4 separate regions of the Homo sapiens genome follow, and all the other regions are linked to region 4. Evidence: promoter capture Hi-C in human tissues and cell types (Jung and others, 2019). All regions are on one chromosome and are shown on one strand. Each heading gives the region's core, a stretch centred on a gene start or on the middle of the fragment in contact. The rest is flanking DNA. Distances are from core to core; before and after follow the strand shown. Region 1 overlaps ANKFY1 (ankyrin repeat and FYVE domain containing 1). Region 2 holds the start of SPNS2 (SPNS lysolipid transporter 2, sphingosine-1-phosphate). Region 3 overlaps ANKFY1 (ankyrin repeat and FYVE domain containing 1). Region 4 holds the start of UBE2G1 (ubiquitin conjugating enzyme E2 G1).

Region 1 (2,700 bases), core at 1-2,500, 160 kb before region 4:
AACATGCAAATAAACTGATTAAGCATAATACCCCAACTGCCTTAACAGCACACATACGACACCCGCTGATCACACAGACAGGTAATTGTCGAATCAAGCACAAAATGGATCAACCTCTGTCCTTCAAAGAAAATTTAACTGTGTGGAACACCACTTTAGTTCCCACAACTGCATGATGCAAACAGTGTGTCTTAGAAATAGTTTCAAATACGAGGCTCTATGCTCAATAATTAACACCTCCTTAAAAGCTCTCCCGGCTGGGTGCAGTGGCTCACGCCTGTAATCCCAGCGCTTTGGGAGGCCGAGGTGGGTGGATCACCTGAGGTCGGGAGTTCGAGACCAGCCTGACCAACATGGAGGAACCCCATCTCTACTAAAAATACAAAATTAGCCGGCTGTGGTGGCGCATGCCTGTAATCCAAGCTACTCGGGAGGCTGAGGCAGGAGAATCGCTTGAACCCAGGAGGCGGAGGTTGCAGTGAGCTGAGATCGTGCCATTGCACTCCGGCCTGGGCGACAAAGGCAAAACTCTGTCGCAAAAAAAAAAAAAAAAAAAAAAAAGCTCTCCTATAAGATGAATGTGTATGATATGTGAATTATAACTCAATAAAGCTGTATTTTAAAAGCCCCACCTAGGATCTACTGAGGTCAGGAGCTCGAGACCAGCCTTACCAACAAGGTGAAACCCTGTCTCTACTAAAAATACAAAAATTAGCCGGGCATGGTGGCAGGCGCCTGTAGTCCCAGCTACTCAGGAGGCTGAGACAGGAGAATTGCTTGAACCCAGGAGGCGGAGATTGCAGTGAGCCGAGATTACGCCACTGCACTCCAGCCTGGGCAGCGGAGTGAGACTCCATCAACAACAACAACAAAAAAAATAAAAAGAAAAAAAGAAAAAAGAAAAAACTCACCTAAAATATCTATAATGTTTTGAAAAAAACAGCCAAATCAGCCAGGTGTGGTGGCTCACACCTATAATCCTAGCTCTTTCAGAAGCCAAGGCGGGCAGATTGCCTGAGCTCAGGAGGTCGTGACCAGCCTGGGCAACATAGCGAAACCCCGTCTTTACTACAAATACAAAAACAAATTAGCTGGGCTGCCTGTAGTCCCAGATACTGGGGAGGCTGAGGCACAAGAATCACGTGAACCCGGGAGGCAGAGGTTGCAGTGAGCTGAGACGGTGCCACTGCACTCAAGCCTGGGTGACAGAGCAAGACTCGTCTCAAAAAAAAAAAAAAATTAGAAAAAATAGCCAAATCATAGTACACCCCCCACACCAAAAAAATCAGATTTCTACTGTAACAACAAAACCACAGTACACCAAAATAGAGAAAAACTGGCTACAATGGATGTCCTCATAAAGCCGCATAATAATAAAAACAAGACTCTTTCAGAATCATTAATAAGGAAACACGGCCAGGTGCAAAGGCTCACACCTGTAATCCCAGCACTCTGGGAGGCCAAGGCAGGAGGAGTACTTGTGGCCACGAGTTCAAGACCAGCCTGGGCAACACAGCAAGACCCTGTCTCTACCAAAACAATTGAGAAATTAGGCAGGCATGGTAGCATGTGCCTGTAGTCCCAGCTACTCAGGAGGCTGAAGTAAGAGCCCAGGAGTTCAAGGCTGCGGTAAGAGCCCAGGAGTTCAAGGCTGCGGTGAACCGTGATCGCACCACTGTACGCCTGCCTAGATGACAGACAGAGACTCTGTCTCAAAAAAAAAACAAAACAAAAACAAACAAACAAACAAACAAAAAACATCAACTACATCAGAGAAGAGAGAGCTGAAGGCAGGCAAATAGGTCTCTGGTAGCAAAAGCAGGACCACATTGTAGTCTGGAAGATATGGCATTGGAAAGACCACACTTCCTCTATGCCAGAATTCCTGGAAGCCTTAGGGAGTCTCCCATGAGACCAGGCCCATGGGGAAAAGGTGGCCAGGGAACAGCCCTTCACCTCCCTCGCCTCCACTGCTCCCTCCAAATCAGGTTCACCTCCAAGGGCAGTCACAGACGACTAGTATGGTTTCACGAGATTTCCTGACATCCACCATTGTTTTCCCTGCCAGCAGCCTCCACCAAAACTCTTTTCTAACCACAAAGGCAGAATGTGGTGGACAGAGCAAGATAAACAATGAGGTAAAAAAGACCTGAGTGGAGACCCATTACATTTTAGGGGCCAAATTACTTGAGCTCTCTGTGCCCCTCTCTCCTCCTCTATAAAATAAAGATGTTACTCTACTTCAGATATTTGAGGAATACTTGTGTGTTTGTCAAGATGGAGGAGAACTAGTTACACTCAGCACAGCTTGAGGTATGTAGTAAATATGCTCGGAAGTTTGAGGTCCCTCTACTAGCCGTTCTCGTCTCTAAAACCTGAAATTCCTTTACTAAGGAAAAATCACAAAAGGAAATCACTTAATTTTAATAATCCACATTAGTGGATTTCAGTACTGTTAACCATAACTAGCTAGCAGATAATTCCCAATCTTAACAGATGGGCTTTAGGTAACAGACGTAGAAAAAGACCATGGGAATGGGTGATGGCAGAAGAAAGAAGGAAGGTCATGAGAAAGACCTGGGCAGAATGCAGAACACACTTTTTTTTTTTTTTTTTTTGAGACGGAGTCTACCTTTGTCGCCAGGCTGGAGTGCAGTGACATGATCTTGGCTCACTGCAACCTCCGCCTCCCAGGTTCAA
Region 2 (2,700 bases), core at 1-2,500, 130 kb after region 4:
TGATGCCAGAGCCTGGGGCAGCTCCAGCCCTGCCACAGCTTCACTGCCTGTTCGTAATGGGTCACGTCCGTGCCCTGGGACTTGTCTGTGAAACACAGGGAATGATTAACTGGTTTCCGAGGGTTTGTCCAGTTCTAACATTCTGTCCTCTGCACTTTATACAGGATTTTAATTTCGATTTTAATTCCCCAAACAGGTGAATGGGGGAGGGAAGGGGGAGATCGTCACAGAGCCACAGCACCTCTAAGGAGGGGTGAAACCGTGATGGGATGTCAGGAACACAGAAGCACCCCAACCACTCTCCATAGGAGGCAGACCCCCGCCCCGTCCCACCAAGGGGAGGTGACCACCCGTGGATTTCCAGACTGAATCCCATCCTGCCATCTGCCCCCAGATACAGAAATGGAGGCCCAGAGAGTGGGTGTCATGTTCAGGATCATGCCACACACCAGGGCAGAGCTGAGCTAGGACCCAGCCTCCTGTCTGCCACTGGGGGCTTTGTACCCTCTCTAGCACATACCTGGAAGTCTGAAGCTTGGAGATGTGGTCCCTCAGGAGGGAAAGCCCCTTCTGAATATCCTGTTTCTGTTGGGCCCCAATCACAGCCCTTGCTCTCCCCGCCAGGGGCTGCGGGCCACTCTGTGGGGCAAGGGTAGGGTCCGGGTGCCCACACAGGAATGGGCCCGGGGTAGGTTGGGGGCTGGATCTGGGTTGCCCTGGGGAGGTGGGAGACACAGCCCACCATGACTGGTGGAGGTCTAGGTTCTGGGCCCTCCCTGAACTGGTTAAATCCGGGCGTGTGAGTATCGGAGGAGCCACCGGCTCTCCAACTGGCGCCCCTGACTTTAGCCATCTGAGACTCCTCTCTCCAGTTCTCCCAGATACGCTAGGCTCAAGCCCTCAGCCCGGCTCCCAGAGCCTCCGCCGGGAGTCCACGCCCGAGGCAGGGGTTGGGTGAAGGGTACTGAGTAGGTGCTGGGAGCCCCGTCACCAGCACCCTGCTCCCAGCTCCGTAGCCAGAGCAAACCCTCTCCCGCTCCCCGCGGGCGTTCGCGGCCGGTCGGCCCCGGCGTGACTGCGCCCCCATTGGCAGGAGGGGCTCTGCCGCCCGGGCCCCCAGTCCCCGGGCCCCCCACCCCCAGGGCAGCACGTGCGGGGCGGGGCTGTGGCCCGAGCCCGGAGCTGATTGGGCGCGGGCCTGGTGGGCGGGGCCGGGCCGCAGCTGTCAGAGCCGCGGCGGCGAACGAGGCGCAGCGAGCTGAGCGGTGGCAGCGCCGCAGCCGGGGCCGGAGCGCAGGAGCCGACGGGGCCCGACCAGGATGGTGCAGTGGCGGCTCCGCGGCGCACGCACGCGCTGAGCGGGCCCAGCCTGGGCCCCGCGCCCCCCGCGCCCCCCGCCGCCCCGATCCGGGCCGGCATGATGTGCCTGGAATGCGCCTCGGCGGCGGCGGGCGGCGCGGAGGAGGAGGAGGCGGACGCGGAGCGGCGGCGCCGGCGCCGGGGGGCGCAGCGAGGGGCTGGCGGTAGCGGTTGCTGCGGGGCGCGGGGCGCGGGCGGCGCTGGAGTCTCGGCCGCGGGCGATGAGGTGCAGACGCTGTCGGGCAGCGTAAGGCGGGCCCCGACCGGACCCCCCGGCACCCCCGGCACCCCCGGCTGCGCAGCTACTGCAAAGGGCCCCGGCGCTCAGCAGCCCAAACCGGCCAGCTTGGGCCGCGGGCGGGGGGCAGCCGCCGCCATCCTCAGCTTGGGCAACGTGCTCAACTACCTGGACAGGTACACCGTGGCAGGTGAGCGAGTGCCCCACCCAGCCCGAGGACCAAGACCCCACCCCATCCCACCACCCGCCTCGAGGGAGGTACCCCAGAGAGCTTTTGGTCTCAGGCCTGCTATCTCCAGGCCCTACGTGAGGTCCCTACGGACCCTCTGCTCAGGCACAACTGGGCAAGGGATGCCTCCGTGCACCACGGGTACAATCCAGCTCCCCGCTCATACACACCCGGGGCCAAGGGATAGAGGAGTCCCCACCCCTGGAGCAGCCCGCGCGTCCTCTCCAGCCCTTGACGGCCCATCCGTTGTCCTCCTCTCCAAGAGTCTCCTCTGCGTCTCTCTGTCTCCTTGTCTCTGCGCCCCCTCCGACCCCAGCTGCCGGTTCCCGGGCCTCCTTCCCTTCCCTTCCCCCAGCCCAGGTCGTCTGTCCGTCCATGGCCCGTCAGTTCCTTCCTTTCTCCGCCGCCTCCACCCCCCTGCGTGCGTGCGGCGAGTGCGCGCGCCCCTTGCGGGTGTGCGCTAGGGAGACCGGGTGTGTGTGCGCGTGGCGGCGCGGTTGTGTGTGAGCGCGTGGCTGACAAAGGCTCCGGGCTGCGGGGAGCGGAGGGAGGGGCGGGGCGGGTCCGCGGCGCCTGGGGACCCAGGCTGCGGTTTGCAGCTGGCCCTGTACAGAGGCCTGGAGACGCCTCCCCCTGCTCTATGGTGCTTGGGGTGTAGGGTAGGGCGCAGGCCTCTGGAGCTAGAGACGTGGAGCCTCATCCTCAGGGAGCATCTCTGGGAATCAGCCTTGGGGACGGGATTGGGATCGATAGAACAACTGGGTTCTAGCCCCAGCTTTGCTCCTAATGTGCTTGGTGTGTGACCTTGGGCCAGTCTCAGCGTGTGTTTAGGTCTGTTTGCCCGTTTGTGAGTTGATTGATCATTGGGCCTTTG
Region 3 (2,700 bases), core at 173-2,672, 140 kb before region 4:
TCAAACTCCTGACCTCAAGTGATCCACCCAACTTGGCCTCCCAAAGTGCTGGAATTACAGGCGTGAGCCACCACACCCAGCAAGGATAGAAATGTTTATGTTGATTGTGGCAGTGGCTTCACAGGTGTATTCGTATGTCAAAACTTATCCAATTGCACACTTTTAATGTGGGCAGTTTACTGTACTTCCATTACACCTCAATTTGGAGGAAAAAGAAACCAAACTGACAGGCAGCACGGCACTGTGGTTAATGGCACGAATTCTGCAGCCAAACTACCTAGGGTTCAAATCCCGGCTCCAATCCTTGCTAACTGTGTGGAGTTAATACATAATAAAGCACTCAAAACACCACCACCACATAGTAACTGCTATGTAAAAACTTGCTATTATTACAATAGACTATTTAGAAATTGATCACAATGAAAACAGTACCTACCAAAATATTTGCAATGTAGTCAGATTCATACTATAAAAAAAAGTCATAGTCTTAACCTTATTAGAAAATGAGGCCAGGCATGGTGGCTCACACCTGTGATCCCAGCACTTTGGGGGGCCGCAGTGGGTGGATCACCTGAGGTCAGGAGTTCAAGACCGGCATGGCCAACGTGGCAAAACCCCATCTCTACTAAAAATACAAAAATTAGCCAGGCGTGGTGGCGGGCACCTGTAATCCCAGCTACTCAGGAGGCTGAAGCAGGAGAATCACTTGAGCCCAGGAGGTGGAGGTTGCAGTGAGCTGAGATCACACCACTGCACTCCAGCCTGGGTGACAGAGTGAGGCTCTGTCTCAAAAAAAAAAAAGAAAATGAGATAAAAGATAGTAATTCAACTCAAAAAGAAAAAATAATTCAAAGGAATTTCAAAGAAAGATTTAATACAGATAAAAAGAAATTATTGAATTGGCTAAATATAAATAAAAATTAAAAGAACAATGAACCTAAACCAAATCTGCAATAAGCCAACACAAACACAAACTTAACATAACCAAAGATTGGTGAGAAAAACCCAAAAGCAGTATGAGGATTAAGTAAAGAATATAACCGCAGATAAAATAGATTATTTTGAGCTCTGAGAGAATCTTTGGGCATGGGACTCAGCTGCTGGCAGGAGGCCACAAGGCTGTTTGAGTGTCCTCATGACATGGCCGCTAACGTTCCCCCAAAATGAGCAATCCAAAAGAGAGAGCTAGGAAGAAGCCACAGTGCCTTCGATGAAGCCATCTCTCAAGTCACATGCTGCCACTTCTACCACACTCCATTCATTAGAGGTGAATCAGCCTATACTGAAGAGGAGAATTTGAATCCACCTTTGCAGGGAGAAATAGCAAAGAATTTGTGAGCATATTCTTTTTTACTCCTTTTTGTGAGCATATTCTAAACTTCCCGTGGATGTCATCGAAGGAACACAGTATGATTTAATACTGAAACTGAACAGCCTTAACCTAGTAGTTCACACAGTAGCCAACAGATGTTGAATATTGCTGTGCTTCTCTTAAAAATTTAAATAGCACACAGCTCCCCGAGTACACAGTTTGGGAAACTATGCCCTTTCCACTGCAGAGTGCAAGCTTTCCAGATGGTGCTTCAGGGGATAGCTTTCCCAACCAGAGTGAAAAGGAATAAAGGAGGATGTTTTCTGCTGTTTGGAATGGCTTGACACTATCCAGGACACATTCCAGGAGAGCTGAATGACTCATACCCTGAGCCCTTATGCCAAGGAACTGTAAGATCTTTGCTTGAGAAAGTATGCAACAAACTCTAGCTTCAAAACAGCCATTCTAATCCATTGGAACCTCTCATCGTGTCAGCTGCTACTGGTAAAGTGCTACAGAGAGGCCATAAACAGATCATTTTGCTAGAAGCAAATTGCTTTACTTCACCAAGAAGTAAATATAATACTTTCCTTGTGGACTCAGATTTGTTATGCTTTGCTGAGCTAACAGTCATATTCTTTCTCTTCCCACTTGGTCAATCAGTATCTTTATAAACTTTTATCTTTTATTCTTTTTTATTAGGGTTTAACAGACAAAAATTATATAGAGTTAATGTATGACATGTTTTGATATATGTATGCACTATGAAATGGTTATAAGCTAATTAACATATCACTTCATATATTTAAAGATACCTTAGTAAGAAATAAAAAAGCAAATTTCTACTTTGTTTACATTTTCAGATACTTTCATACTTTGAGAAAAGCTGCAGAGCATCCCCATATGCCCTTTACTCATCTTCCCCTATTATTAATACAGCTTATATAACCATAGTACAATGATCAAAATTAGGTAACTACGTAATACATACAATACCAATACCATTAACTAATTATAGGCCCTATTTTGCCAATTTTACCAGTAATACCCTTTTTATGGCCAGAATCCAACTGAGGATTCTACACTGCATTCAGTGTTAGTCTCACCCAATCTGTAATACTTCCTAAACCATTCTTGTTTTTCATAACCTTGACATGTTTGAGAAACACTCTGGCTGATTATTTTGAGAAATGTCCCTCAATTTGGGTCTGATGTTTTCTCATGAGTAGATTGAGGTTATGCATTAATGGCAAAAATCCTATACAAGAGCCAGGCAGAGTGGCTCATGCCTGAAATTCCAACACTTTGGGTAGCCAAGGCAGGAGGATCATCTGAGCCCAGGAGTTTGAGACCAGCCTTGGCAACACAGCAAGAGCCCATCTCTATTA
Region 4 (2,700 bases), core at 26-2,525:
AAAAGTCAACCTGGAAGCCGCAAACGGCCGGAGGCCGGGACAATGGGGGAGGGGGGCCGCAGGCTCCTCGGGGAGGCCGACCCGGCCGCCGCCCCGGGCCAGAGCCTGCGGGCGCAGCTCCGGGGTTTGCAGGCCTGCGCAGCAGCCGGAATCGCGGCGAGCACAAAGCCCGGAGCCGGCCAGCGAGCGGCTCTCCCCGCGGCCCGCTCCTACCCTCCCCCAGCCGGGCGGCGCAGCCGGAGCCCGTGCCAGGCGGAGGCAGGCGAGGCGGCGATCCGCACTCCGCCAGGGTCTCCGGCACCCTCGCGCCCGCGTGGAGGCCGCCGAGGCCAGCGCTTTTGTTGTCGGCCCCAACTCCGCGGACCCAGCGCCGCCCGGGGAGAAGTTTTGTGCGCCTCACCTATCCCGCCAGGGCCGGTCCCTTCCGCCCGCCCTCAGACACCGAGCCGGGGACTCGCAGCCGCACTGGGTCCGGACGCTCCAGCCGGCCCCGAAGGTCCGGCGGCCCCGGCAGCACCTGAACCCGGGACCCGCCCCTCCAAGCTGGCGGCCCCGGCCTGGGGACCCGCACACAGCCCCTCCCCCGCAACGTCCTACAGAACGGTGGGGGAGGGGACCTCCTCCTCTCCGACCCCCCGGGCGCCAGGCCCAGTCCCTGGGCCGGAGCTGGGTCGCGTCCCCGCCCCCAGTGCCCTCCAAGAGCCGGGCGAGAACGGCTGGGCCCGGCCGGGACCGGAGCCTCGAGGTCCCCACCCTCGCAGGCCCGGGCCCCTTCGGCAGTACGGCCGCTGGCCCGGGAGGAGAAGAGGGACTGGGCTGCGGCTGTCCGCGATCGCGGCCGGGCCCGGCGCCCCGCCGCCCGCCTGCTCACCTGCCAGCTGTCTTCGCAGTAGCAGTGCCGACTGCAGCTCCGTCATCCTCCCTGCCGAGGGCCCGGGCTGGCGCCGGGGCTTCCGAAGGGCTGGGGACAGGCTCTGGGGGCGGCTGGAGCGGGGTGTGCCGAGGAACCCGGGCCCCGCGACCGGAGCGCCGGAGCCGAGGAAGGCCGGGCTGAGGCGGCGGGAGCGGCGCCTCGCTGCCGGTGCGAGTCCGCTCGCTTCAGCTCTTTTCACAGCGACTCACGCCCGGAAGGGGAGGGTGCCCGGGCTGCCGCGGCGCGCACTGGGACTTCGCTCGCCCGCTTCCCTCCTTCAACCCGCCCGTCGGCCCCACCGGTGCCTTCCCCCGCCACTGCCTCACTGCGCGCAGGGCCGCTCGGCGCAGGCGCGCTGAGACTGCCGACTTGGGAAGCGTCCCGCCCGCTAGCCCGACCCCTCGGCCTCCCGCCCCGCCCCCGGCGGCGGAACCCCGCCCCTTGAGCGCAGTTGTCCCGTCCGCCGCCATTTTGGGAAGGTCGACGCCCGGCTGCCAGCCCAAGCCTCCGCTGGTAGACGCCCCGCGGACGCCATGACAAAGAGGTCGCAGAGGGTCAAATACAGCCTCTGGATTGAAGCAGTGGATATAGGAGCGAAGAGGCCAGAAGAAGTGGTAGATGTCTAGTCCTTGGCGAGCGCCCAAAAGCCATCTAACACTGCCACATGGTGTGCGAAGTAGGAATTGTTAGAAAGCCGAAGTTAGTACTGGTGTGCCCCATTTTAACCAAACATCAAAATAGAGGCAATATATGATGATAACTCACTTTACATGAAGAGTGCACAAAAAAAGCCACCGCGTCCGGCCCTATTATTATTGAGCCACCGAGACCGGCCCTGTTATTATTATCATTTATGGACGGCAATTCTCTCTGTCGCCCAGGCTGGAGTGCAGTGATCATAGCTCACTGCAGCTTGGAACTCCTGGGCTTAAGGGATCCTCCCATCTGAGTCTCCTTAGTATCTGGGATTACAGGTACACACCACCATGCCCTGCTATTTTTTTATTTGCTTTATAGAGATCGGGGGGTTTGACGGGGCGCGGTGGCTCATGCTTGTAATCCCAGCACTTTGAGAGGCCGAGGTGGGCAGATCACCTGAGGTCACGAGTTCGAGACCATCCTGGCCAACATGGTGAAACCTGGTCTCTACTAAAAATACAAAAATTAGCCCAGCCTGGTGGCAGGCGCCTGTACTCCCAGCTACCAGGGAGGCTGAGAAAGGAGAATTGCTTGAACCTAGGAGGCAGAGATTGCAGTGAGCCGAGATGGTGCCACTGCACTCCAGCATGGCCGACAGAGAGAGACTCCGTCTCACAAAAAAAAAAAAAAAGGAGGGGGGGGCCAGAGGTCTCTCTGTGTTGCCCAGGCTGGTCTCAAACTCCTGGGTTCAAGCAGTCCTTCCAACTCGGCCTCCCAAAGTGTTAGCATTACAAGTGTGAACCACTGCCCCCTATCAAATAGACCAAAGGGACCATTTTGATATTTCACTTTACCAAATCAAGGAAATTTACTTCTATTCCTAGTTTCTTTCTTTTTTATTTTATTTATTTATTTATTTATTTTTTGAGACAGCCTTGTTCTGTCGCCCAGGCTGGAGTGCAGTGGCGTGATCTTGGCCCACTGCAACCTCTGCCTCTCAGGTTCCCGAGTTAAAGCAATTCTCCTGCCTCAGACTCCTGAGTAGCTGGGACTACAGGCGCACGCCTCCAGGCCAGGCTAATTTTCTTTCGTATTTTAGTAGAGATGGGGTTTTACCATGTTGCCCAGGCTGGTCTCGAACTCCTGAA

The links. Contacts are between HindIII fragments. The study calls those that stand out against the background at their distance.
Region 1: a fragment that was not itself captured here is called in contact with the fragment with the promoter of UBE2G1 in region 4 in 1 of the 25 tissues and cell types used here (dorsolateral prefrontal cortex).
Region 2: a contact is called between the fragment with the promoter of SPNS2 here and the fragment with the promoter of UBE2G1 in region 4, in 1 of the 25 tissues and cell types used here (psoas muscle).
Region 3: a contact is called between a fragment that was not itself captured here and the fragment with the promoter of UBE2G1 in region 4, in 1 of the 25 tissues and cell types used here (H1 embryonic stem cells).

The regions. Positions count from the first base shown.
Region 1 is chr17:4,210,172-4,212,871 of GRCh38, forward strand. All of the region lies in intron 4 of ANKFY1 (ankyrin repeat and FYVE domain containing 1), which reads right to left. Among named protein-coding and RNA genes, the nearest start is that of ANKFY1, 52 kb to the right of the region's middle. The HindIII fragment of the contact is 4,377 bases long and covers 1-2,700 here.
Region 2 is chr17:4,497,631-4,500,330 of GRCh38, forward strand. SPNS2 (SPNS lysolipid transporter 2, sphingosine-1-phosphate) reads left to right here and starts at 1,251. Exons shown (of 13, transcript NM_001124758.3): 1 at 1,251-1,787. The coding sequence starts at 1,418. SPNS2-AS1 (SPNS2 antisense RNA 1) reads right to left here and starts at 1,105. Exons shown (of 3, transcript XR_001752763.2): 1 at 521-1,105; 2 at 1-85. RefSeq lists silencers at 1,044-1,103, 1,114-1,263, 1,324-1,373 and enhancers at 1,415-2,050, 2,051-2,685. The HindIII fragment of the contact is 11,191 bases long and covers 229-2,700 here.
Region 3 is chr17:4,228,635-4,231,334 of GRCh38, forward strand. The region is part of intron 3 of ANKFY1 (ankyrin repeat and FYVE domain containing 1); the gene reads right to left. Among named protein-coding and RNA genes, the nearest start is that of ANKFY1, 34 kb to the right of the region's middle. The HindIII fragment of the contact is 6,569 bases long and covers 1-2,700 here.
Region 4 is chr17:4,365,400-4,368,099 of GRCh38, forward strand. UBE2G1 (ubiquitin conjugating enzyme E2 G1) reads right to left here and starts at 1,276. Exons shown (of 6, transcript NM_003342.5): 1 at 872-1,276. The coding sequence starts at 917. RefSeq lists silencers at 1-696, 747-1,446 and enhancers at 609-1,295, 1,115-1,409. The HindIII fragment of the contact is 21,131 bases long and covers 1-2,700 here.